Linked DNA regions of Homo sapiens: all the other regions are linked to region 1. The links are contacts of gene promoters, found by promoter capture Hi-C in blood cells and fetal thymus (Javierre and others, 2016). All regions are on one chromosome and are shown on one strand. The core of a region is centred on a gene start or on the middle of the fragment in contact, and the rest is flanking DNA. Distances in the headings are between cores, read along the strand shown. Region 1 holds the start of ZBTB18 (zinc finger and BTB domain containing 18). Region 2 holds the start of LOC124904569 (a long non-coding RNA gene). Region 3 overlaps AKT3 (AKT serine/threonine kinase 3). Region 4 overlaps SDCCAG8 (SHH signaling and ciliogenesis regulator SDCCAG8).

Evidence for each region. The method cuts DNA at HindIII sites, captures the fragments that hold promoters and counts their contacts. A CHiCAGO score of 5 or more calls a contact.
Region 2: a fragment that was not itself captured here is called in contact with the fragment with the promoter of ZBTB18 in region 1 in 1 of 17 cell types (endothelial precursors); the score reaches 7.2 in endothelial precursors.
Region 3: a contact is called between a fragment that was not itself captured here and the fragment with the promoter of ZBTB18 in region 1, in 1 of 17 cell types (fetal thymus). The highest score is 8.9, in fetal thymus.
Region 4: a fragment that was not itself captured here is called in contact with the fragment with the promoter of ZBTB18 in region 1 in 1 of 17 cell types (fetal thymus); the score reaches 8.8 in fetal thymus.

The regions. Positions count from the first base shown.
Region 1 is chr1:244,047,305-244,053,997 of GRCh38, reverse strand. ZBTB18 (zinc finger and BTB domain containing 18) reads right to left here and starts at 2,715. Exons shown (of 2, transcript NM_205768.3): 1 at 2,554-2,715; 2 at 1-210. The coding sequence starts at 2,566. LINC02774 (long intergenic non-protein coding RNA 2774) reads right to left here. Exons shown (of 12, transcript NR_033883.1): 12 at 6,681-6,693. It overlaps LOC124904570 (a long non-coding RNA gene), which reads left to right and starts at 5,757. Exons shown (of 2, transcript XR_007066975.1): 1 at 5,757-5,987; 2 at 6,401-6,693. RefSeq lists enhancers at 1,439-1,940, 3,657-3,706, 5,917-6,076 and silencers at 3,387-3,476, 5,627-5,746. The HindIII fragment of the contact is 5,583 bases long and covers 1,780-6,693 here.
Region 2 is chr1:243,360,279-243,367,065 of GRCh38, reverse strand. All of the region lies in intron 12 of SDCCAG8 (SHH signaling and ciliogenesis regulator SDCCAG8), which reads right to left. It overlaps LOC124904569 (a long non-coding RNA gene), which reads right to left and starts at 6,274. Exons shown (of 2, transcript XR_007066974.1): 1 at 4,788-6,274; 2 at 2,902-4,673. The HindIII fragment of the contact is 1,676 bases long and covers 2,030-3,705 here.
Region 3 is chr1:243,501,593-243,508,458 of GRCh38, reverse strand. It overlaps AKT3 (AKT serine/threonine kinase 3), which reads left to right. Exons shown (of 14, transcript NM_005465.7): 14 at 3,125-6,866. The coding sequence ends at 3,210. Among named protein-coding and RNA genes, the nearest start is that of MIR4677, 160 kb to the right of the region's middle. The HindIII fragment of the contact is 486 bases long and covers 2,184-2,669 here.
Region 4 is chr1:243,415,002-243,421,539 of GRCh38, reverse strand. SDCCAG8 (SHH signaling and ciliogenesis regulator SDCCAG8) reads right to left here. Exons shown (of 18, transcript NM_006642.5): 14 at 5,711-5,838; 15 at 3,464-3,572. Among named protein-coding and RNA genes, the nearest start is that of MIR4677, 72 kb to the right of the region's middle. The HindIII fragment of the contact is 7,890 bases long and covers 1-5,216 here.

The DNA of each region.
Region 1 (6,693 bases), core at 1,466-3,965:
TCAGATGAACAATGTCTCTTTTGTCCAGCTGGTCCTTGTAAAAGAGGTGGAAATACATGCTGCATGAAGCCAGTACAGCTCGGTGCGCTCGGAACTGGGCATCTCCCACCAGAACAGTGCAGTCACAAAGAAAACCCTGGTGTCTCTGCTCGCTCAGACACTGTAGCAAATGTCTACTATGGTCTGGAAACTCCATACTGTCTTCATAACCTGGGGAGAGAGGAATTTCTCATTAGAGCCTGGTCAGGAACAACTTTTCAGCGCTCCAGTCCCCATATAAAAAAATTAATTCCGCTTTGGCCGCCGTGGTACATGTCCCTGAATTTTAATCAGGCTTATGACCCAAGCACCACCAAATCACACGGACAAGACCTAAATGCCAGAAGGAAAATGCACACTTTCTGAACTTCCTCACCCCCGCCAAAGAGCTTCCGACGCATCTCCATCTTCCTTGAACCCAAGTTCTAAAAGCCTTCCTTTAACTACAGTCTCTCACTAAGAATAAGAATTTAGATCTCTTCCAGAAGAAATTTAATTAACTCTACTTATCAAATTATGTCCCACAAAACCTACAAAATAGCTTTAATTTCAAAGGGAACAACTCATATAATAAACAAAGAAAAGTCCCAAACATATCCTGGAACATACAAGAAAACTTGTTCAACCATCCTTTTTATTACTTTTGCTACCTGACTGTGCTTAGAAAGCACAGTTTAAACACACACACACACATTTGGCTGAATCAAGAAAAAAAAATGAAATTGCATAATTAGTCCAGAAATTAGCAAACAACTTACTTTTAAAGTCAGGGTGTTACAACAAAAGCCCTGTGTATAAAAACAGATGTTAATGCCTTCAGATTTGCAGGTATAGCACACATGTACGAGATCAGAAGGAGCTGCACCAACAGATGGAAAAGATCATCTTTACTATGAACAAATCCAAAGATTTTTCAAAACGAACTGAGAAAAAAGTAGTTACATTTCTTTGTAGAAACTGTACTTTCAGAATATTAGGAACCAGAGGGGCTTTACTGAACTCCGAAAATTCTCATCTAAACTTTGATCCGTTGCAAGGCAAAATGAGTTTCATATTGAAATTAATTCAAACTTTTAAAAATAAAGGCATACAGCGCTTAAATAAAACTCAAAAGCTTTACAGGTTCAACGTTTTTTTTTAAGCCTTTTTAGAAAAAGAGAACCTTTTTTTTTTTCCTGGTTCTGCCTTACCTCAGCCAACAGAAAATACTTTGTTTCAATATAATTTGATATATTTCTGTTTTCCCACTAGCTTCTATTCTTGCAAATATTCATCATTGCCCTTGTTTTGTGATGAGGGAAAGTGAAATGGAGGGAGGAGAAAGGCAAAGATGTACAAAGGGTCAGAATTCAACTGCAGTGGGTAAACTCCTGAAAAATAAAGAAGACCCGACTTCCCCTTTCCTGTGACCAGAAGCAAGCCTCCACACCACCCATCTCAGCAAGTGCATTTTGGGAATAGATACACTTAATTTAATATTCAGAAATTACTTCCTTTCTTCTTGTTCTTCTACACTTTGCCCAAGACAGACTAAAACTTTATCCTAACCCCAGACACATTCTGCAAGATGCCACTGCTAGAATAAACTAAGATTTACAATACAATCACTTTAAGTGCCCCACAGCTAACATCAATCCTAATCCTTGAGAAGGCTAAAAATAAAGATTGGAGGGCAGCTCACAAGGTAGCCGTGATCAAATTAGGAGGCTGAGAGGACAGAGAGGGACGAAGAAGGAAGCTTATAAACATCTGATCCAGCTGACTGTGGCCATATGGCAGCTGCTGCCCAGATAAAGAGATTAAGAATAGAGGAGTGCGATTACAGCTGTCTGGCCAATTCAGGCAGCTCAAATCTACAAGTTCTAAATTAGTCGCTAACACAAAAACTCCTGCAAATAATTATTGTTATGCTGAAATAAAAGATCTCTTAAATATATATTTGAAAGAGAAATGAGGAAACCAGTCAAACTATTCTCCTGGGGACAAAAGTTTGGTTTTTTTTTCTTCTTCTTAAAAACCTGCAGTTTCAACAGCACTACAGCTGTATGTTTCAGTAGTGCTGCTCAATGTTTTGAAGAATAAAGTTTCACAGAGGAATTAATTATACAACAATCTAGCTGCTTAACTAGAATAATCTTCTCATATAAGTTTGAATGCTGGATTCCAGTTTACTATTTCCCCACCACCACCACCCCAATCAAATCTAAATAGCAGTGAACAACAAAAAAGCATTTTAATCCAACGTGATTTCCAAAAGCAGCATTTTAAAGCCTTTCTTAACATTTCAAAACTTGAAATATTTGTGTATTAAAGTTATTTACTCGCTCAAGTAAAAGGGATAAAAAATTAAAACTAAACAAGCTCAAGACTTTCAACTCCAGTAAGATGTTCATTTAATACTCAATTTCATATATTATTCCTAAACTGGGTTAGAAAAGTAATGTGATTTTTAAAATTAAATAAACAAAACACCAAAACAGAAATATGCTCAATCTAATCTCTTGCTACTCCTACCTTTAGGACACATAAACCTGATTAAGTCCTTTCCTCTGAGTCCTGCTGGCTCCAGGTCTGTTACATCGGTGGAAAAAAAGCAGACTAAGAGAGACAGATGCAAAGTGGAGATGATGTTAGAGAGGAATGAGATACCTTCTCCACCACAGATCCGCACACACTAACTCCCTGTCTGTGTGTTAGAATAAAAGGCTGAGGGATGGCAGGCTGTCAGCTGCTCTGACATCATGTTCAGATGGAAATGCTACCTCCAGCTGTGCTCCTTTTAATGCCATATGCTACTCCTCTACACTCCTGCCACCAGCTTTTTCTTAGGAGAACTTTTCTCTTCTGTTAGTATAAACAAAATACTTCAAAGTCTTCCTTTTTTTCCAAACTTTCTAACAGAAGAAATTGAAAAACTCAGCATATGGAGTTCTACTGTATTTATGGAATAGCAACACTTCTGTCTTAAGTTGGTGGACTGGCTTACATACTGACAGCACACTCAAGCCACGGTGCTATTCAGGAAATCCAGATTCACTTTTATTCAACTCCAACGTTTAGTTTCTAAAGCAGTTTAGGGATATTTTTAAACCAACCCATTTGACATCTCCAGTCCCATTTCAACATTATTACCGCACTTTTTTATTTTTTTCTGCTGAGATAATGGTATACATGTCTCAAATGTTGGCAGACTTGTTCAGAACTATTACTTCAGACTGGTTCACCTTATTATTTCACTCTTATGTAATTACTTATCTACAACTACCTTCTCAGAAAAATTTCTTACACTGCCACAGTCAATGCAAATTTCAATTCTCGGTACCAACAAGCTGAAACTGCACTTTCTGAAATCCTGGAAAGTACTTCAGTTCAACGAGACCAATTAATAAACTGATACAACCTGCTCCAGTCACTTAAAATGAATGCTGCACCTGCATATCTGATCTTTCTGCTCAGAAAAAGCAGAACCTTGCCTTCCCCTTGATCTGTGTCCCTTAACAATCTTTTTTTTCTTTGGGGGGGGGTCACTCTAATGTTTATGATCACAAGAAAATCTTTGTGTGGGGGGAAGCCAGGTCTAGTAAGTTTGAGAACTTTTCAGCCAGTTTGTGGGTCTTTTCTAATAGCTGATGAAACTGTAACGCGACCCGGGCTGGGCTGACCGGTACCGGGCAGGGTGCTGCGACATCTCTGAATGTCAAATACATCTCCTCAGACTCTTGGGAGGGCGAGGGGTAGAAAAGGAACTGGGGCCTGAGGCGCCAGCGTCCCAGCCCTGGTGATAACCACTTCGTTCCCATTAGAAAGCCGTGGCGGAGAGTTAAAGAGTAACAAAACCCGACGACTCCGTCCTGTCCTTCTCGCTTTCCCAAAGTCACAAACCTAACTTTCTCCAACTTCGCGGTGAGTGACATAATTATGAACACTTAGTCCAGGAGACATCCTCGGGAGATCAATTTCTTCCCAGCCACACCACCTATTCTCCACAAATGCCCTCGACCCATTCCAATATATCAGACATTAATCACCCCATTTACCCAGTGGGGTGGGGGGTGAGTGACAGTTTAATGAGTCCCGGGCACCGCAATGGGCCAGCAACTCCCACTCCACAAATCAACCCCTTCACGTCTCGCTACCGCGGATCCATAGAGGTTTTGTGAGGTTGGGGTTTTGTTTTTCAGAGAGGTGGGGGCGGGGGTGCCGAGTGGGGAAGCAATGCAAATCTTTACGTAGTTCGCCGTGCATAAAACACACGGGGAAAGAGGAAGGTTAAAACCACAGGGAAGGAGGTGGAGGGCGCAGAGCCGGTGCAGCAGGAAAACACCTTAAACAACAGAGGAGAAAACAGACCCGGGTCACGGCAACAACAAAAGAAAAGTCGTAAGAAGCAGCCAGCGGGAGGAGAGTGGTTGCTACCGCTTCCCCGATGCCGCGACGCGCGAGCCCCCGGGGCCTCCGGGCAACTGCACCAGCCCGGGAGGGCCCCCTCCCCCGCCGGCCCCCTCCCCCGGGCGCCACTGCAGCTGCACCGGTCCCCGGAGCCGCGGCCGTCCCGGGCGCCACTGCAGCTGCGGCTGCTCCCAAGCCCCCTCCCCCAGCCCGCCGCCCTCCGCACCCGAGAGGCGCCACCGCAGCTGCACCGGCCGGGAGCCCGCCCCGCGCCGCAGCTGCACCGGCCCGCGGGGGCGCGGCGCGGAGCCGGGAACCCGCACCCCGCCCGACCCCGCAGCTGCAGCGGCCCCGTCCCCGCGCCCGGGCCTCCCGCAGCTGCGCCGCCCCCCGCCGCCCCAACAGCTCCAACCACACAAACTAACTCCACTCGCGGGGGCGCCCCCGACCCGGCCCGCCCTCCGCCCGCGCCGCCCAGCCGGCCGGGGCCGCACAGCTGGCGCCCCCCGCCCGCCGGGGTGCCGGGGCGCGGAGGGGGCGCCAGGTCAGGGGCCAGGGGCCGGCGCCGGGACTCACACGGAGCGGCCCTAAGTCACCGCGTCCCCGCCGCCGCCGCGTCCTCCGCCTCCTCCTCCTCCTCCTCCCGGCCGCCGCCGCCGCCGCCGGACTTGGTGGGCTTCCTCCGGCTCTTGCCCCCCTCCCTCCCGGCCCCCCCACCCCCCAATCCCGGCTCCGTCGCCCGCTCCCCCCCGCCCCTCCCTCCCGCCCACCCCCGCTGGCAGCCGGAGGAGCGCGGCGGAGCGAAGAGGGCCCCACTCTCAACGGCTCCCCATGGCAGCAGCCCAGCGGCGGCCGCAGCCTGCCAGACACAGCGAGGGAGCGAGCGAGGGAGCGAGCGCGGAGCCGCCGGGCCGGGTGGGGGGGCGGGGGCGGGGGGGGGGCGGGCGCGGGGGAGGGGGAGGGGAGGGGGCGGGAGGACGCACCACGCACGCACGCGGCGGCGCCGGCCAGATGTTCCCCCCACCCTCAGTCCGCCCCTCTCCTTCCCCTGCCTCCCTCCCTCCGGGCGTTGGGCTTCTGCGATTGACCGAAAGCGGCTGGACCGGCGCTCCCCGCCCGCCCCCAGCCCTCAGACTCCTCCAATGGGAAGGCGGCTCTTCGGGAAGGCGGAGGGGGTGGTGGGCAGTCGTCGGACTGACAAGGGGGCCCAGCCAATGGGGGTGGCGAGCCGTAGCTGCCCTCCCGCGCGTTCCAATCGCAGGCAGCAACTGTTGGGGTGGGCGGGGCTCGGGCGGGCGGGGATCCGGAGCGAAGCGGCGCGGGGCGGAGTCCTCGGGCGCAGCGGCGGTGGCAGCAGCGGCGCCCCTCTGGGTGACTTGGCCGTGAGAAAGTGAAAGGAGCCCGCAGGCGGCGGCGACAGCTGCGCTGGGAGGGGCTTGTTTCCAGGCTCAGAGGCCCCGCGCACTCTGCGGGTGCGGAGCGAGCTTTTCGGTGTGCACTGTGACAACCACAAACACACTTTTGAACGTAGTGGGGCTTGGCTGCTGCGAGTTACGCAGGTATCCTGGAGAGGCAGGGCACCCGGGGACACGGATGACTCGAGGCCGACTTCGGGTGGCTCTCTCTGCTCCTTCCTGTGGGGGTGAAGACGCCCGGGTCCTCGCCGGCCCGTGCGCAGGGGAGCGGGACCGAGGAGCGCTCTCGCTCCGTCCTGCGGCGTCCCGCGCCCAGGTGCACATCGGGGAGCTGGGGACGCAGGCGACTCAGGCAGTTTCTGGGAGTCGTTCTTACGTCATCATGTCACGGGCAGAACAGGGCAGAGCGCCCGCCTTTCTCGCAAAACCCTCCTGTCCCTTGTGTACTTACACTGTTACAAGTAAAGACTTCCCCAAGTGACCAAATTTTAGAGCATTACAGTAAAATTGGTACTTGCAGATGCCTCAGCTTGATTCCTTAATTGATACGTATCTAGCCACAACTTTAAACTACCGAGGGACGATGTAAGACTGCTGTGTCGCTTTTCTTTCCTTCAAATAAACTTTTACTCGGTACCTGTTCTTGGCAATTAGACTGCGTTAATCACAGCCACAAAGACGTGGAAATGTCTGCCGTCAAGAAATTGGAAATCGTATCGAGGCAAGAATTACAAGTAAAAAGTTGAATAACAAGTGGTGGGGGAGGGGGAATGGCTGAAGAAAATAAAATAGAAAAAAAAAAACAACTTCATAGTGAGGAAGTCAGTCCACTAGTCATTGTCTAATGAAA
Region 2 (6,787 bases), core at 1,618-4,117, 690 kb after region 1:
AAAATCATCCAAAAGCAAAAATAAAATATAATAAAATAATTCCAGTTTAGGAAAGCAAACTGTTAATTTATTCCCTTAAACTATTCCTTCCCAAGCTCTCAATTCAATACAATAAATATTTTTGAGCACATACTATGTGCCTGCTATGTGCAATGTGCCAGACATTATACATATATATATGATCCAGATGGCCAGATAATTTTATATACATGTATATATACCTACATATACATATGTGCACACACATATACACACTATATATGAATAATATCCAAGCTATTTCACTCTTCACTTTCTTTTGTAACTATTAAAATATTAATTGATTCCCTATCATTTTGATAAAAAACAAGTGCAAGTCCAATGACACATCTAAGGTACATCATTTCCTCCTCAAATTTACAATCATCTGGGCTACAGTAAATAACAGAAATTATTATGATACTCTTATTTAGTTTTCATAAAAATTTACAGCAGGAAATTATAAGTATTAATATTAGGGCTTCAGGACTCAGTAAGTGAAGTCTAAACATCATTTTCACATTATGTTGTTATATTTTGGGCTAATTATATTCACTTATGTCTAAACATTAAAGTTATTAATTACTCAATAGAGTAATTGCATTGAAATTATATTGAAATATAAGATTAAAAAAACTTGGTCACATTGCCCACTACTAATTACAGTGGTGTAGCTCCTGCACCATTCCCTATGTGTAGAAATATGGCTAAACACAAGTAAAAACCAAGACTAAATATAAAAACCACACTAAAGCAATTTTAATAAATAAGAGAATGACAGGCACTTTCAAATAAGATACAGATGCTTTCACTATCTATAAAAATAAAATAAATTTAAATGAACTGAAAATATTGCTATTCATAAAGTTATAACTGATTTTGCCTTAAGAAAACTTCATAAGTCAATTTAAATACAAGAAGTTTATTATTGACTTCAAGTTTAGAAAATATCTTTTTCATTATTAAATGTATTTACAATGCTCTCAGATTCTCATCATGAGGTTAAAAATACTTAAAAACCAACAAGGATGCCATTCATAATCCTAAATTAAATAAAGTTTTTGAAACAGTTTGTTCAAAATTGACACTATTACCTTAAATGAAGAGCAGCCTAAAGGTCATTTCAAAATGGAATTTCAACAATTTTCTATACTTCTACATATGCTTCAGATGGAATATTTTCCCAGATACTAAAATTACAGGAAAATCAACATACATGCAGGCATACTCTTCAAAGCCAAAAATTTTTCAGTGTAGATATAAAAGTATTGACAACTACAAAAGTCACAATTTCCAAAGAAAGCTGGATAATTAGTCTGCTACTATTGCCATAGTAAATATAGTTTTTTAGATATGGTATCTGCTACTAAAAATTATTGTGTAAAAGAAATTGGCCCATTTATTCTTAACCAGAACAAAAGGCAATTTTTGGCAAAATTATTTTGTCTCTTAGATGGTGTACACATTTTTATTACTTTTCTACTATCACAAATTAAAACTCTTATACCAAATGGTACTCTTACAGAAACTGTCTAGAAAATAATCAAATATTCTGATTGCTAAAGGGAATATAAAATGAAACTTTTGGCTTATTTTGTATCTAACTTCCAAGACTTCGATGTACAGTATTTACTTAGCAAATACAATTTCTGTTCTTTAAATACTGTGCTGCTTATATTTTTTTCTAAAGTGTACTCCTATCTAAATGGTCCCAAAAACATTTGGGAGTAAACTTCCCTGTGAAGATAAAATATTTTGTTTCATAAAAAACAAAATAGGCCTTTAGGAAAAAAACATGCAGTTAGGGACACAAGACACCTCAGTCATCATCTTAATCTATCGCCTCACTTTACAGGTGGGAACGTGGGATCCAGTGAAGTTAAACCACTCGCTAAGCCCACTCAACTGTACTAGAACTCAAGCTCCAGACTCTTCGCCGATACCCATTTCCCTTCAAATGTGGAATAATGCCAAGCCACAACGCTAACTCAGTTACAAGCATAAATAAGCTTCTATTGGTAATAATTAACTTTTCAATGCAATAAAGAAAACATATCGTCTGTTTCTCCTCAGACAACTGTTAATCAGCAAGAACTTTTTCGTTTTGCTCTTTTATTCTCTTATTAGTTCTGTCAATCTCTGACAACTAGAACAAATGTAAGACTTATTCTTTTTTTTTAAGCAGCATCTTAAAGCCATACATACTATTTCTTAATTTAGAGGAAAAAAAATGCATTTTCTTAGGTTTGGTTTTTGTCAATATTACTGTTTGGTATAGGTGCTAGGACAAAAGAAAATGTTTATTTTCTCTCAAACCAAGAAAACCTCAAATGTTTTTCCAGTTCAAACTAAATGATTTTGTTTTATAGGAAACTGTATTTTAATTTTTCGCTAAATGAACTTCAAACAACTGAGAAAAGGAAGTCATATTCTTGTAGTCTGGATCACTTAATAGTTCAGACCATGGAATACAGCTCCTCTTCTTGCCTATACAAACACACCGGCTCTGGCTGAGGTCACCTCTCTCTACCTACCTACCTACCCAGTTTCTGTTACTCCTTGGTGTACCTAATTACAGAGAACATCAGTATGAATGCTCTGGTTCCCAAATCCTAAGGAGAGTAGCAGAGGTAAAGCATTACTAAAAACATACCTAAAGCATTCTCACCTATAGGCTCTTACTAACATTTATGCTTGGATGCAAAATATTCTGACCACCCAAACAGCATGTCTGTGTTCAACTTACCTTTAAGCTGTTACTCTGCTTGTTGGTGACACAAAATAATTCCTCTTCCACTGGAAAACTGGACAATTTAACCTTATTTTGTTGGAAGGTTTTCACCAAAATTAATGACATGTTCTTATGTGAAGAGGAAACAGCAATTTTAACAACAAAACTAGGTTTATTTATAGAGACATAACTGATTGAAAAAAAAATCCTTCTGTACTGAGACATGGTGTACGTGATCTCACCTTATGGGGAGTTCTTAGAAAACTCACTTTAGCTGTGGGTTATGTAAATATTTCTGTAAAATTCTATTTGAGGAACTTAAGAATTTATTGAACTTGGTTTTAACTCAAAAATAACCTATATTTTCTAACTAATTTTAGCAAGCAGCACCAAAATGTGAAGTAGATTTTTAGCTAATATTTTGAGTGTGTTATTTTAAATTAACAGCTTCCACATACAAAGGAGTAAACTCATCTCTTCAATTTATTGACAATCCATTCTATTCCTATGTATGTATACAGCTTTTCATAGTTTAGAAAACACTTTCACATACATTACTGAATTTATATGCTGTGATAATTAGAAAACTAGCAAAATTCCTGCTTTCACCCATTTTCATAAAGAAAAATAAAATAGGCATAGAACAGAGAGATATAGGGTAAATGATTAGGACAAAAGACTTTAAAATGGAGAGTAAGTCAATAGAATGAATAGGAGAAATCTCAAAAAAATGATTTTAAGACTCAAATTTCCAATTTAGCCCATTTATCCAGGTTATCTAGATGAACAAAATGGAATTTCAGACAGCCCCATTTCAATTTTGACCTCTCATTGGGAGTTTCCCAACACGGGTTTATATCCTGCCAAACTACAAATCTGCTCCATATTTACAACGGCACTTTGATTTCTTAGCCATCCATGCCCGATTTCCTCATTGCCCACCATCAAGGCAAGCTTCTGTCACATGGTTCATCGGTATCTAGGCAAGCTACTTACACACAGTAGGCATAAAAATAATTTTTTTATTTGACTAGAATTATTTTGAAGAAGGCAATGGTCTGGTTCTTAAACAGAAAAATAAACATGATCTGGTTCTTAAACATCAATTAGAACAAATCACATGGAAGACAGAACAGCAAATATCAAATTACAAGGAAGCTGCAGGTCATAGGCTCTGTGATGCTCTCTGTGCTATACTATTTAGACCACTGACTTTAATGAGGATGCCACCGATGTGCTGATCAAATGTGTCTGTGACACAAACCTCAGAGGAAGAATTTATTATGGCAATATGTTGAAAAGAGGATCCAAGAGAGCTCGGACAAGCTGACACGACAGGCCCAAACGAAAATGACCAAGTTCCAGACAGGTAAATGCAAATGTCTATATTCACCACCCAGTTGTAGGTCAGCAGATGCGTGCCATGAGGGGTTTTAATTGAATTTTAAGCTCAATAAGAATTTACAATGAGACATATTTGATAAACAATAAGGCAAATGATAGTTGGCTCTGATGCTAGATTAACATAAGCTTAGGCAATAGCTCCACTGCTATGCACTGGGCAGTTCAAACTAGCAGTCTCATATTCAGTAATCATCACGACTCTGGAAAGCAATGTGATAAAATGGGACACAGATGGGAGAGAGATGAAGGTGGAAAAGCTAAGGATCACAGTATTAGTAAAACTAGTAATTATTAGTGTGTATTGAGCAATTATTACATGTCATGCATTGTACTATGAGGTTAACATAGATGACCTAAAATTTTACAAAATCCTATAAGGTAGGCATTGTATCTATCCTCATTTTACAAAGAGGAAAACTGAAGCTTGCACATTTTCAGTAACTTGTTCAGATTCATTGGGTAGTGGGTAGTAAAATGAGAAATTTACTTGAGGCAGTCACTTGGCCATCTCTTCACCTACCTATCCATCCAGTTACTGTGTTACTTGAGGCAGTCACTTGGCCATCTCTTGACCCACCTATCCATCCAGTTACTGTGTTACTTGAGGCAGTCACTTGGCCGTCTCTTCACCCACCTATCCATCCAGTTACTGTGTTACTTGAGGCAGTCAACTGGCCATCTCTTGACCCACCTATCCATCCAGTTACTGTGTTACTTGAGGCAGTCACTTGGCCATCTCTTGACCCACCTATCCATCCAGTTACTGTGTTACTTGAGGCAGTCACTTGGCCATCTCTTCACCCACCTATCCATCCAGTTACTGTGTTACTTGAGGCAGTCACTTGGCCATCTCTTCACCCACCTATCCATCCAGTTACTGTGTTACTTGAGGCAGTCACTTGGCCATCTCTTCACCCACCTATCCATCCAGTTACTGTGACCCTAATTGCAATCAGGGCACTGGGGCACTGAATACAAAAGAGAATAAGACAAGTAAAAGTCTCTGTCCTCAAACAACCTACATTTTAATGGAAGAAACTGATTGTTTAAAAGCAAATGAACAATAAAATAATAAAAAACTTATAATAAGCTCCATGAAGGAGGGGAATGAGGTGCTGTGAGAGAATAACAGAGTATACATTAGTAGCCAGTGAAGTAGAGACATTGAATTGGAAACCAAAAGAAAGAAAAAGAGCTGGTTAAGCAAAGGAAGAGTGGGAAAGAATATATGTGGAAGATGTTTGTCCAAAGGCCATGGCATGTCTGAGAAGCTAAAGGCAAACCACGGAGGCTCCACTGAATGGACAGGGGAAGGGTGGATGAGAAGAGGGTGGAAAGACAGGCAGTGGGGAGATTATGCAGGGCCTTATAAACTGTAGAAAGGAGTTTGGACTCATGTTTCTAAATGCAAATGGGAAGCCATTCCAAATTGCTAAATGGAAGAGCAATGCAATGCAATGCAATTCACGTTTTGCTTTCGCAAATGTGTTGAGTATGAATAAAGAGGGCATAACTTTATGAAGCTAAGGTTGTGATAAGGAAAGATGATAATAAACAAATGAGTAAGATATGGAGTAAAATAAAGCAGAAAGGGGGCAGGAGTACTCGGAAACTGGTTTACAACATAAAACAAGGTAGTCAGGAAAGTCTCACACAGATGATTTCAGCGATGACTTGAAGGGTTATTTTGTGATCCACAGGATATCCCAGAGAACCCGGCGAAGAAAAGAGCAAGTCCAAAGGCTCTGAAGTGGTCGTGGGGGCAGACTGGTTAGCACCTTGCTAACCAGTGACATAAACCTGAGAGGAATAATTTATTATGGCAATATGTTGAAAAGAGGATCCAAGAGAGCTCGGACAAGCTGACACAACAGGCCCAAACGAAAATGACCAAGTTCCAGACAGGTAAATGCAAATGTCTATATTCACTGCCCAGTTGTAGGTCAGCAGATGCGTGCCATGAGGGGGTCACTGTTTGACTTTGCCTTTGACTGCTACTGAGGTAGGAACCACTGGATGGTTTCAGAAGGGTGACAAGATCAGACATAGGTTGTTTTTTGTTTGTTTTTTTGTTTTGTTTTGTTTTGTTTTGAGATGGAGTCTCACTCTATTGCCCAGGCTGGAGTGCAGTGGCGCAATCCCGGCTCACCGCAACCTCCACCACCCGGGTTCAAACGATTCTCCTGCCTCAGCCTCCCGAGTAGCTGGGACTATAGGCACCTGCCACCGTGCCTGGCTAATTTTTATATTTTTAGTAGAGACAGGGTTTCACCATTTTAGCCAGGCTGGTCTTGAACTCCTGACCTCCTGATTCACCTGCCTCGGCCTCCCAAAGTGCTGGGATTACAGGAGTGAGCTACCTCACCTGGCTGATGAAAGTTTAACAGACTTTCTCTGGCCCTTATGCTGTGAAGGGGCTAGATGAGGAGAAGCAGGGAGCCCCAGTTAAGAGACTGTTGCTGGCCAGGCATGGGGGCTCACGCCTGTAATCCCAGCATTTTGGGAGGCCGAAGTGGGCAGATCACAAGCTCAAGAGATCGAGACTATCCTGGCTAACACGGTGAAACCCCATCTCTACTAAAAATACAAATAAAAAAAAATTAGCCAGGCATAGTGGCGGGTGCCTGTAGTCCC
Region 3 (6,866 bases), core at 1,177-3,676, 550 kb after region 1:
AGCTCAGCAGAGTATGCCCAGGCAAAGACTAGCATCGACGCATCTGCAGGCACCTCTGTTCAGCAGCCTCTCCTGCTGTCTGTGTGGCTCAGCAGAGCGCAGCGCTCAGCACTGGGGGCCATGGGGCCCTGGGCTTCCTGTCTTAGGGGAGCAGCCTTGATGGTGGTTAACTGCAGCTTCTGGGTTCTTCTAGGGCAACGGGGCAGTATTTTTAGTTTGACAGTTCCTGGATACATCCTAGATTCCCTTAAGGAGCAGATAAAATGAGAATCACTGAAACCTTGAACGGTGATTACATTCAACATAACCTTTTTCTTGCAGCTTTGAATAGTTTAACTGGTAAGAAACCGTTGCAGCTCCCTAAGTGCTAACACACAGAGGTTTTGTTGATAAAAGTCCAGGGTAGTACCATTCGTTAGCAATTGTCTTCCCACTTGCCACCTTGCTTGTATAAAACAGAATACAGTTATTGTTTAGAACAAATCAGCAGTTAGAAAGGCAAAATGTTCCATTTTCTACAAACAGCTGCAGTGACATGCCAGATTGTCCTCACTGGCGTTAATAATGGAACAGATTTGGGAATGTGTCATCTTTCGTTATCGCCATTGATGGTCCTCCTCCTTCCTCTTACAGAAAAAGAGGGTTTCTTTGAGATCTGGTCGCTTTTACTGCCATATAATGCCATTTGTTAAATGTTCTAAGAAAATCAGGCAACTGATGTTCCTTGGATGCAGGGATTCAAGGGATGTAGCAAGTAGAGTTGATCATTGTCTTCTTTTTCCAGATAAGTGTTTTTGAAAAACATAGTTCATGTTCATTATCATCACTATTCCCTATGCACAGCCTCTCACAGCAGGAACTAACTTGTGTACATTGACAGGCTCCGACTCAGAGTCAGCTGCCACTTCCTCCAGCTCCCCTCCCACCGCAGCCCCTGCCCAGGCTCTCAGCTCTTTTAGGGCCATGATCAGATGTTCACGCCTCATTGTTTCCAAGCCTGACAACAGAAAGGGGCAGGAATGATGGAGGGAGATCATTGGCTTTAAAGAATATCAAGGATTGGGGCCCTCAGGGATATCTGTGAAATTTCCTAGATTCAGAATTGTGATGAATGTGTTACTGAAGTGACAGAATGAAGGCTGTCTCTCAATTCTTAGCTGACACCAGCAAGAGTCCCTCCTCTTCCAAAAGGGTGTCTAGCACCTGCCCCTGTTGAGCATCTGGCTAACCTGGGTGCTGAACCTCGCCGGGCTGGAATGAGTCCTGGCCATGGCCCCAGGAGTCCAGGCAGCTCCTGCCCTTCCTGGCTGAGCAGGACAAGCACCAGGCTCCCCACTGCTGTCCAGAGCCAGCTGCAGGTTTGCTGTGCAGAAACACTGAGTAAAATAAAGCTGTTGGTGAGGAAAATTGTTTATTTGAAATGTGATTGGCTCATGTCAGAATCTGAACATTAAGGTTTTAGCTGCCCGTATTCTCTAGAGAGTTTTTATACTCTGGGGCTCAACCACGGGTACACCATCATTCCCAGCTCCTTCCGTTTTTACTGTAGCTAAAAATACTGCTGAAGGTATTTGATCTAAAAGATGTGTGTGACTTGCTTGGTACAAATATTGGAACCAATAACTTTATAAGGAGGTAGAGATTTCCCCAAATCTCAATACCTTCTAGAAATGCTGACTGCAGTTACAGTGGTCTATTTGCAGAAGAAGAGAGGGCCTCCGAGTTCAGTGTCTTACACAGAGCAGGGAGCCACAAATGCTTCTTGATGGATCAGTTCTCACCTAATACGAGGATATCTTCTGGTACATTAGGGGTCAGAAATTTTGGCTAATGCCAGCTTGATCCCATTTCTAGAATCTTCTGCATTAAGAGTGGGATACAGAAAAGAAAAACAGTGATACAAGAATGGAAGTGTTTATTCTTCAGACAAAGGCAGAGCCCCCTCCTCTTCGGAGTGACAGAGTCAGAGCCTCAGTGCAGTGGGATCTGGCCTGTATGCTTTCTTTGTTTACACCCACATCCAGCGGATGCTCCCTGGAGAGGTTAGAATATTCAAAAAAATTGGTAATGTACTTCCTATATGGGTTTGAGGACATCGAATTATTTTGCTTGAAGAGAAAAGGGTTGAGTATTGGAAAGATTCACTGATTTCCATTGCAGGACAGCATATGATTAAACAAGCTTAGAGGCAAGCACGGGGGATTTAAAATGGAGCACCTCCCCCAGGAGACTGTGAGGCCAGGGGGCCCTTGGGACTTTGTTCAAAGTTCTGCGGTCCTTGGGCCTGACGGGTGCTCAGCCCAGAGCAGATGCGTGGGAGCGCATGTTGACTGAGTGGCTGACCACGTGGCCACATACCAGGAAGAGCTTCCAACAGCACAGGACTGTCATCACAGGACATTTATGAGAACAGGGTGCTGATCATCTGTGATCTTTGAAATACAGGAAACCAGGAAAGCTGACAGGAGGAACACTGTGATTGTCAGCGGCCTGTTTTGATGCCTTTCAAGTCTCTTCCATTGTTTCCTGATGAGCTAGGACTCAGATGTTGACATCCTTCCCTCTTTTTCTTTCACTTAGTCCCTTCATGCTAAAGTTTTATCATAGGGAAATTGGGAAAGGTGAGTTAAGCCAGATGCTAGATGTTGAATGAAATTTCATAAGAAGCTTTATTTTGCAGTTGCACTTAAAGCATCACAAAGAAAAAATATAAGCACTTGAAGACATTCGATGATGAATTCTATACAGACTTTGGATGCTGTGGATTTCACTGACTTGCAGTTTTGATATATGTGGTTACATGAAATGAAAGGTTACTGAAGACTGCTCCTTCTTAAAAACTTCTGTTTTCTTCAATACCATTTTTTTCACTGTTTCATTGAGTCTTGAAATTTTGATGTCTTAGAGATGATTCTATAGTATTATTTCTTCATAGACTATGTATTTATGAAAATCAGATGATTTTTGAAGTATAATTACTCTACAGCTTATTGATGAACACAAGTTTATGGGAGCTATTGCCTCTGTTCATCTTTCCTATGTTCAGAGTTTAAAAAACATAGACTAGAGATAATGTTGCAAAAAATGAATGTGTAAAATTAAAATAGATGTTTCCTGCCCACAGATGATGAGGATGGTATGGACTGCATGGACAATGAGAGGCGGCCGCATTTCCCTCAATTTTCCTACTCTGCAAGTGGACGAGAATAAGTCTCTTTCATTCTGCTACTTCACTGTCATCTTCAATTTATTACTGAAAATGATTCCTGGACATCACCAGTCCTAGCTCTTACACATAGCAGGGGCACCTTCCGACATCCCAGACCAGCCAAGGGTCCTCACCCCTCGCCACCTTTCACCCTCATGAAAACACACATACACGCAAATACACTCCAGTTTTTGTTTTTGCATGAAATTGTATCTCAGTCTAAGGTCTCATGCTGTTGCTGCTACTGTCTTACTATTATAGCAACTTTAAGAAGTAATTTTCCAACCTTTGGAAGTCATGAGCCCACCATTGTTCATTTGTGCACCAATTATCATCTTTTGATCTTTTAGTTTTTCCCTCAGTGAAGGCTAAATGAGATACACTGATTCTAGGTACATTTTTTAACTTTCTAGAAGAGAAAAACTAACTAGACTAAGAAGATTTAGTTTATAAATTCAGAACAAGCAATTGTGGAAGGGTGGTGGCGTGCATATGTAAAGCACATCAGATCCGTGCGTGAAGTAGGCATATATCACTAAGCTGTGGCTGGAATTGATTAGGAAGCATTTGGTAGAAGGACTGAACAACTGTTGGGATATATATATATATATATAATTTTTTTTTTTTAAATTCCTGGTGGATACTGTAGAAGAAGCCCATATCACATGTGGATGTCGAGACTTCACGGGCAATCATGAGCAAGTGAACACTGTTCTACCAAGAACTGAAGGCATATGCACAGTCAAGGTCACTTAAAGGGTCTTATGAAACAATTTGAGCCAGAGAGCATCTTTCCCCTGTGCTTGGAAACCTTTTTTCCTTCTTGACATTTATCACCTCTGATGGCTGAAGAATGTAGACAGGTATAATGATACTGCTTTTCACCAAAATTTCTACACCAAGGTAAACAGGTGTTTGCCTTATTTAATTTTTTACTTTCAGTTCTACGTGAATTAGCTTTTTCTCAGATGTTGAAACTTTGAATGTCCTTTTATGATTTTGTTTATATTGCAGTAGTATTTATTTTTTAGTGATGAGAATTGTATGTCATGTTAGCAAACGCAGCTCCAACTTATATAAAATAGACTTACTGCAGTTACTTTTGACCCATGTGCAAGGATTGTACACGCTGATGAGAATCATGCACTTTTTCTCCTCTGTTAAAAAAAATGATAAGGCTCTGAAATGGAATATATTGGTTAGAATTTGGCTTTGGGAGAAGAGATGCTGCCATTTAACCCCTTGGTACTGAAAATGAGAAAATCCCCAACTATGCATGCCAAGGGGTTAATGAAACAAATAGCTGTTGACGTTTGCTCATTTAAGAATTTGAAACGTTATGATGACCTGGCAACAAAAAGTAATGAAGAAAATTGAGACCTGAGTGAAGATAAGAAATGATCTTTACGTGGCAAAATGAACACATCTTGAGTATTTAGGAAATGGGCAGTGAAGGCTAAGAACCTGGTGTGTTTCTTGGGATCATGGTACATTTATCACTGAATTAAGCCATCAGGGAAAAAACAACAAAAAAAGAGAACACCTCCAGCTTTTCTTTTTCTGTATATACTCATGTCCCCCAGATTCCAACATTTCTCACTGAAAGGGGGCATGTATGCAAACCTCATCTTTCTCCTTCATTAATGATGATCTTCAGATTAAACCCTTTGGTGCTAGGAGCTGACAATTTCCAAAGCAGCCTGTGAAGTCCTAGGGGCTGGGGGCCACTCTTGCGGCAAGCAGAAGGCCATCCTACTCCGCGGAGTGATCATGGAAATGTATTTTAGTTAAACTCTGACAGCTCCCAAACGGAAGACTACAGCATGACGTAGTATTATGATTGCATTGTATGAAAGAGCAAGTGACTTTCTAAGTAGGATGAATCATATTCATATGCAGATGTCTTAGCCTCTTGACGCTGGAAGTGTGGATTTATAGCTATGAAACCACTGCTGGCAGTGGGTGGGCCACTGGGACTGACGGGGGTTAAAGGGCATTTTACTAAGGCAGCTAAGACATATTCAGACATCAACGTTATCCTTCTTTTTCATATTTCTACCTGAGTGAAGTTCATCCTTAGTATTGAGTAGGAAGTTACAGTAAATGGTAGTTCATTCTTACTTACACACATAGCTAATCTTTTTTTTTTCACTTGGAATTATGTTGAATGTTTCATTTTGACAAAAAAGTAGACTAGAAGGTATGTTCTTTAAGTTGTCTTGCATCCATTATATAAGAAAGAAACAGGTGAGAGGAAGAGCAGAAAGCTGAGACTGGCTGATGTTCAGAGCACTTACTCCTCTAGAGGGAAAGCATGACACCGAACACTAAGCACACAGCTTTTTGTTGTTTTGGTTTTTTCTCCCGCAAATCTTAAAGTGATTCCCATGACCTTGGCCAAGGACACTTCTTAAAGATTAATGACTGGCACTGACATTGCCCCAGGCGGGCCACTCCTCACACTGGCTCTCAGTTCCCAGCCATGCCTGGGGCTCAGTCACTTCTATTCCACCCTCTGAGACTCCATTGGTGTCACACAAGGTGTCTTCTTGGCTTTGATTTTGAGAATCCCCTATTTTCACTTCCAGATCTGTCAGCTGCCATGGAGGAATAATAGAAAACCAGAAATGCGTGTAGAGGGAGATTTCTAAAACTTCCCTTGTGTCGCCCATAGTTGTAGTTTTGGGTTCTGGCAGGTGGAACACCCTGAAACCTGGAATCATTCTATGAGAATACAGTTCAGACTTTGCAGACTCCAGCCCATACTAACTGTCATGAAGCTTGACTTCTTGTCATAATGCAGCCATCTTGGAGGAAATTGGCCATTTCTGCTTAGATGGTTGGCAGGGTCGCGCTCAGCTTTGCTTTCTACACTAATTACATAGCATTATTCAAGTATTGTTTTCCATTTCCCATCCCTGATTTCCAGCTTCTTAAAGCTGACTGTTCTTGCAGGGGCCACTTGCTTCTCCTAGAGTACAAAAGTAAGGGCCTTCCTTACTAACTGCAGGGTCTCTCTATTACACCTCAACATACACACTTTGCTGCTACTGTTTGTACTGTCTACAGTAGAATTTCCTTATCTTGCTCCTGGTAGTGCATTACAGGCAAGCATGAAATGTAAAGTATTTATTTAAATAAAAAGAAAACCTCTAAATTGGTAATTGAATTACCTCCCTGTAGCTTTATAGTTTGTGACATTTCTTGACCTTGCTAGTTCTTTCATTAGATCTGCGCAAGATCTAGTCATCTGGTTAAGGATTTTAAGCAGATGCAACTATAAACCCAAGAAACTGTATTACTATTACTGTTGGTCATACTAAACCTGTCTATTTCCTGAAGTATATGACCCACAAGGATGTGGAATAACTAGGAGAAACTGTTTTTGTACACTGTACATCCTTAGTATTTTTACACGTATATGATAGGGATGAACATGATTTTCCTTCGTACAGACAGCTTAAATAAAGCACTATGTCAATCTGCTACTTCTCTGTTTATTGTTGTTGGATGTGGTTCTATAATCCCCCCAAATTAAATCTTCTTTAATGAAAACATGATTTTTAATAGCCCCAGCTGGTATTAACCTACCTTGTATAAAATGTGACAGGAAAATATAGAAATAATTCCTTGTAGCTCACACACACACACATAGGGG
Region 4 (6,538 bases), core at 22-2,521, 630 kb after region 1:
CTATGGAGGCTTCCAGAAAACAGAAGCAGTCGTCACTGCCATAATGCGACTTACGGTCTCCTTGGGGAGAAAACACATACAACAGACACACACACGGAGGTACCATTTCAAAACATTTTCACAGAGCAACAGAGCAGCCTAGCATGAAGCTGGGGCAGAGAGTAAGGGCGTACGTGCACGCCGAGCCCATGCTCTCAGCTTTCCCGTCATTCTGCATGGGCTTCAGTCAAATGACTAGATCTGTGAGTTTAAAATCTTGTTTTAAATGGTAGGAATCTATTTGTTTAGTTGGTATTTTGAAAAACAAGACTCTTAGAGTAATGTTGCTAGTAACAGAGGAAGGAAAAATATGTCTTAATTATTGCTCAATACAAAATAAATACACTTACTTTTCAAGAAGAATTTTACTGTAATACTCTGAGGAAAAGCTGGACCAAAATTACCATATGGATTGCATAAGTATAAATTTGGAGACTGAGTTTCCACAATGACAAAACTTTAGAAACTCCAAGATTTTCCTTACCTCAAAGCACAGGGAAAATTATTTATCCCAATAGTTTGGCATGGGGTATGCAGAGGCACACTCCTGGAGGGCTTCTTCAGAGTTTACTACATTAATAATTTGTATTTTAAAAGAAGCAGTTTAAGCCCTTCAAGTTTTATAGGTGGTTTCAAAGCAGAAGGTAACATCAAAATGGAATGTAAAACTTAACATGAATGAGTTATTGAAAATGTCATAGTAAGAAGCCAGGGAGAAATGAAACTGGAACTAAAAGAAATTAAGAACAAACAACCCTAAAATCAAAATTTGTCCTATTCACTACCTTCTTGTGAGGCACACAAAATGCACTTTTCGTAAGTTTTAGGGGCGCTTGAGAGTTTTAAAAATAGTAAGTAACAATTTATCAAGTGTTTACTACTTGCCAGGCCTTGGTTGAGTCAAATTGTAAACTTAGAGTAGGTGCCTGCTTTAATTCATCAGAGTTACAAAATACAACTAGATCCACATTTTCCTGATCTGGCTGTTTTAAAAAGGCTTTCATTGTGGCATAGACTTATGTCCGTCGGAAAATGACAGTCAGACTTTCCCTGGCAAAGACAATAGCTATGTAAAGTGATACCCAAATTACCAGTCAAGACCCTTAAAAATGCCACCAGTGAAAATAATAGCAGCTACTGTGTATTACTATGTGTCAGGCACTGTGCTAGGCACTTGATACGTGTATGTATGCGTATCTATATACACAATTCTAATTCCCATAACAATCCTGCAGTGTGGCTTTAGAAATGTTTTTACAGAAGGAGAAGCTGAGGTTTGGGGAAATGAGGCCATGTACCCAAGGTTACAAAGCTCCAAGTGGGAGAGTGAGATTCAAACCTAGTTCCTCTGAATTGCCATGTGTTCTTTACTGCACACTGTCAGCCATCAACAATGGGACAGACTGGCATCAGAAGTCAGATCAGGAGGTGCGAATAGCACCACACCTATTTGTTTCATTCATTCATCATTTATTCATTAAATGCCATCTATGTCAGATACAAAAGAATACATCCAATTTACAAAGTACTGTTCAGGAGCTGGAGGAATGAGAAGCAGGAGGAGCAATAGAGGTTCTGAGTTAGACCAGTACAGGCTAAGATGACAGATCTAGAGGAGGAAAAAGAGGGCCTAGGGGCACAGAGTAAGTTAACCGTTACATGCCAAGGACGCTTACTTCTCCACGGAAATTTAAAGGTGAATTTTTCCTTCCCAAACTTTCTCATCATAACTACTGTGGCTTGAATTTTCTTTAGCAATAGATGTAAAATACTGTAATTACCATAAGAAAGAACGTATACTTTGGAACCAGAAATACCTATGTTAGAACCGTAGCTCTCCCACTCACCAGTTATTTAAACAGTTTTGGTTTCCTTATCTGGAAGATAATAATTCCTGCCTCAAGTTGTGGTGAGAATTAAATAACATACCAAGCACCTTTTTGTCTCTTTTATATAATAAATTTCCCTAATTAGGTCTCCTTGGAGAGCAAGATCACTAATCATTCACAAACCAATTTTAGACCTAATACATTTATATAAAACCCAGATTGATATCATTTTATCCCTAAATGATACAATCTTGTTTGTTTGCTTCTAACAAATTACTTTTGGATCTATGTGGTGCAAATCAAGTATTTCTGGTTAAGAATAGCTACTGTTGATATTTTATGGGTCTCTTTCATGACAAAATCATTTGGTTTTCTTGGTCAAATTTCCTTGAAATATCTGGTATTTTGGCACCTAGGTTTTCCCCTACCAAAATACAATCTTAGTATACGCTAGGAAGGTGCGCATGTCAGAGTACATTCTTGGTGGTTACAGGAGCCTCTGCCTTCCTGGTGAGCAGGGAGAGTTGGATGCACGAGCCCTCTGATTCCCCAAAAGATTCAGGGATGGGGGTTCTATCAGCTAAGACAGCTTGTTGATGCAGGATTCCAAGATGGAGCTCAGAGTGATCAGATATGCCCTGATACTCCCAGAAATCCTTCCCGAATGAAACATCTAGGTCAGTAGTTTGTTTGCTGAGCCATATTTCCTGCTCTCAATAGATCTATGTGAGTTTCAGAAAAATGCAGAAAAGAAGACACACAGGCAATTTTTTCATTGAGTTATCATATAAAGTAGTATTTGACATCTTATCAGTTATGTGAATATTGCCTTCTATAGTTCAATTTAAAGTGATTCTGTCCAATGTCTTTCATTTACAAAAGAAGAAACTATAGTCCAAGTAGGTCAAATACATTTGTCCAAGATTATTCAGTTACTGTCGGAGCTGAGATGGGGAGTCGGGCTTCTTGCAGTTTAGAATATGAAATAATTTATTCATTGAGATAATCTGACTAGAAAGTGTATAGAAAAAAGTCATTAAGATTCCAATCAATGGATTTATAAAAGAGTAGTATGCTATAAAATGAATGATGGCTGTTCTATTAAAATATAACAATTTTAGGAGAAGGGAAGAATAGTTTTGGTTTATTTATTTCAAAGTACCATCTACTTTCATTTTTATATATACACATTTCATCTGTTATCATTTAACCTAAAGACAGCTTTTGTGTTCATGGTGAATTGTAACAATAGATTAAAATGTGTTAACCATACCTATGTAAGATTTTATAACTGCTTGATTTATCTGCATGTTTATGTTATTACCATATTGATCCTTCTTTCCTGAAATTTCACAGTTTTCAATTCTAAACATTGAAATGTCAAATAATAGTACATACACATAACCATGAAAAAACATAAAAGCGTATAGACAATTAAGAAAATGTCCATATGTAGAAAATATTTTCAAAGAAAACATCAGCAGATACCTAATTTTGACATTAGACTATAAAACAGTGCAAATGATGTTTTTTAAGGAAAAATTAGAGTAATCACACAAACAGTGCTCTTGAAAGTATTCTATAACATCACCTACCTGGTTTTTTGAGAGATTTGTTCCAGTTTCTTGGCTAATGTACAGCATTCTTCCTTTAACTTTGTCAAAAATGTATTCTGGGAGGTCAGCAACAAATACTGTTCATTTTCTAGAAATAACAATAAACCCCCACCAACATAAGATGTTTATGGTTGTCGCTCTGCAGTGCTTCCATACATAGAGTGGTAAAGTGCTTAGACCCCTACACATTTCCAATAAGCCACTAGATCACCTTCAATGTCCTAAGTCAAAGGACTTATCATCTGGAAAGACACTCAATCTTGGGAGTCATTTATTTTCAACATAATTATACACCAGAAACATTTTTCATCATACCAGCTTGGTGTAACATTTTAACATGTTAATAAAGTGTCAAATACCTCAAGTGGAAGAATAGATGCTTATATCTTTGCAATATGCAAGATATTATATTTTTATTTTGACAATTTTACTATAAACAGAGTGTCAAAAATTATCACAACCAGATAACTCAAAACTAAAATCATCGAGGAATTCTCTTCTACACTGTAATTCATGCTTTGTTTCATATTTGCACACATGGTTTACTACCACCACCACCCCCAATCTTGCATACACTTCTCTAATTATGAAGGTAAAAATGTGTATTTTCTTTAGAATTTTAATTTCATTGTCAACAGCATGAGCTTCAATGGAGATCTGGTCAAAGAAATTGAAAACAGTGTGATTTTGTGTATGTGTGTACAAGACAAAAGGAAATGTTCTTAAGGCGGTTTTAACAGTTAAATACATTCTAATCTAGTGCTTAGATTCTGCCCAAGACTCTGATCACTAGGATCATGCTAGCAGTGGGGGCAAAAACAATAATTTATCCTACAATTGCCTCTTTTTGTTTTTAGAGGAAAAACTTCTACTAAACCTGGTGAATTTTCGTTTCTTCTGGCCAAATGCTGTTGGAAGAAAATCTCTACTGAAAGTGATAGAGGGAATTATGTGAGTCAATATGACATTTGCCTCTTCATAAGTAAATAGATTATTTAATGACTTGCCTGTTGGCAATTTTTCACCCATAGGATAAGAAATAATTTCTTACTGTGTCATCAAATACAATATATTAATACATTAAATCATATGAAAATTACCTCTAAGCATAAGTTTTAAGAGGCCTTTATTTCTTTTCAATTTTAGCCAATGATTGGCAAAAAGCATATAGCATACAAATCAAAATAAATCAAGGCACTAAAATTAAGCAACATTTTTCTGGAAGAGACAGGATCAATTAAACTTTTGTTTTAATAGTACAATCAGTGTGGAGTATGTGGTGTGGAATTATAATGACTGACACTGTCTTGTTTTGACTAACACTGTCTGTGAACACACAACTCAAAAGTGAAAGAAACTACATAATGCTCTGACTGAACAAATCAAACTGTCTATTTTCAAAGTGCATTTTACTTTCAAATTAAAGGTAAAGAGTTACTGGCCAACTCAGTCTGCAGAATAGTGCCAATGTGATGAAAGATGGCAATTTTTAGCCAAGCTGCCAGCTGTGGTCAGTGCCTTGTATTAGTGAATTTTAACAGCAGTTGTGAGAACTTGAAGAATGCAAAGGATTAAACATCACTCTAGATTGGGTTGGGGGAGGTGGGGAAATCATACAAATGCTAAAAATGTTCGAAGCTGCAAAGATTAAATAAAGGAACATATCAATTTGGAGCCACTGAATTACATCCAGCTGCGACAGTGAATTAAGAACCGATTAATGGCTAAAGCTTTTCTCCAGTTTGGATGCTGAAGCAAACTCATTAGGCTTTTAGAGTAGCTATAATGTGTGTACTGTGGGAACTGTTCAATGCTATTCAGGAGACTCTAACTGTAAGCTCAGAGCATTTCCCGCAGAGCTTCTGATGCTATTTTCTTTATATAACATGTGTGCCTGAAAACCCAGCCAAAAACAAGCCCTTTGTTTTTCTACTTTGTTGTGGTCTCTCTCAGCTTTACGTTTCTTGAACACAGGTAAATAAACTCATAATCCAGATGGTGCAACAGATGTGAGAGCAGCACTCTGAAATCAACAGACAGTGGGCAATACTTTCCATTTTCTCTTTTAAACGCTAACTAATATGTAATTCGGAATCTCCGGTGTAGTTAGCATCTGCTCCCTTCGGCCAGCCAAAGGTTACAGGTGTTCCTGATGTCATTTCACAGTAAGGCGTGGGCCTGACTTGTGAGCTAGTGCCCAGGCTCTAATCTTTCCCTACCACCTACCAGTTTTGTCATGCTGGGCCTCCATTTGCTGTATCTTCTGTGTCAGCTCCTGCTCTCTTTGCTGGGCCTGAAGGGCTTGGGCCTTTGCTTCCTTGCTAAAGCTCTGCTGAATGCTATCTTTTTCCTGTCTGCAAAACAGAGAGGAGACATACAGAAATTTAATCTGCAGATGCACAAACCCCCATCATGTCCCCTATAGACCAGAGAGAGCTGATACGTAGTAAATTGTTAAGCATAAGAAGACAAGGACCTTTCTAATGACCCTCCCCCACTTTAGGGGGAAGATCCAAACAACCTTCCATACAGTGTTAAATACGTGCCATGAATCCAAATGGACTAAAGTGTGCAGTGTCAAAACATCATAACAACTAAATAATGGTATTTTGTAACTTTAAAACACAAAACTTTTTTCTCTAATATTCTTAATGTTTTACACTATCAATGAATGTTTCATCTTCTGAGTGGTCAATCTTTCCCAGAGATACTGGAACTCTAGGAACAAAACTTAAATTCTTAAAACTAAGCTTTGTAGACCACCTCTGTTTTCACTCTAAACTTAAAATGGAATCTTAAATATAATGCAGGAGCCTCTATCTAGAGGCGAGTAAATGATTCTGCAGTGCCACATTCATGTTTTCACTAAATATCTTCACACATCAGGCCATATAATGTGAATATGAATACAAATATGAATACGAATAACTTCCCCCAGCACTTCATAATAAAATCCCTCGTGGGTCACATTGAAAGAAATTGCAGGATGAAAAGCTTCTGTAGTCAGACAACAACCCATCGTACTGTGATAGGACACTGACCTATCCCACTGGG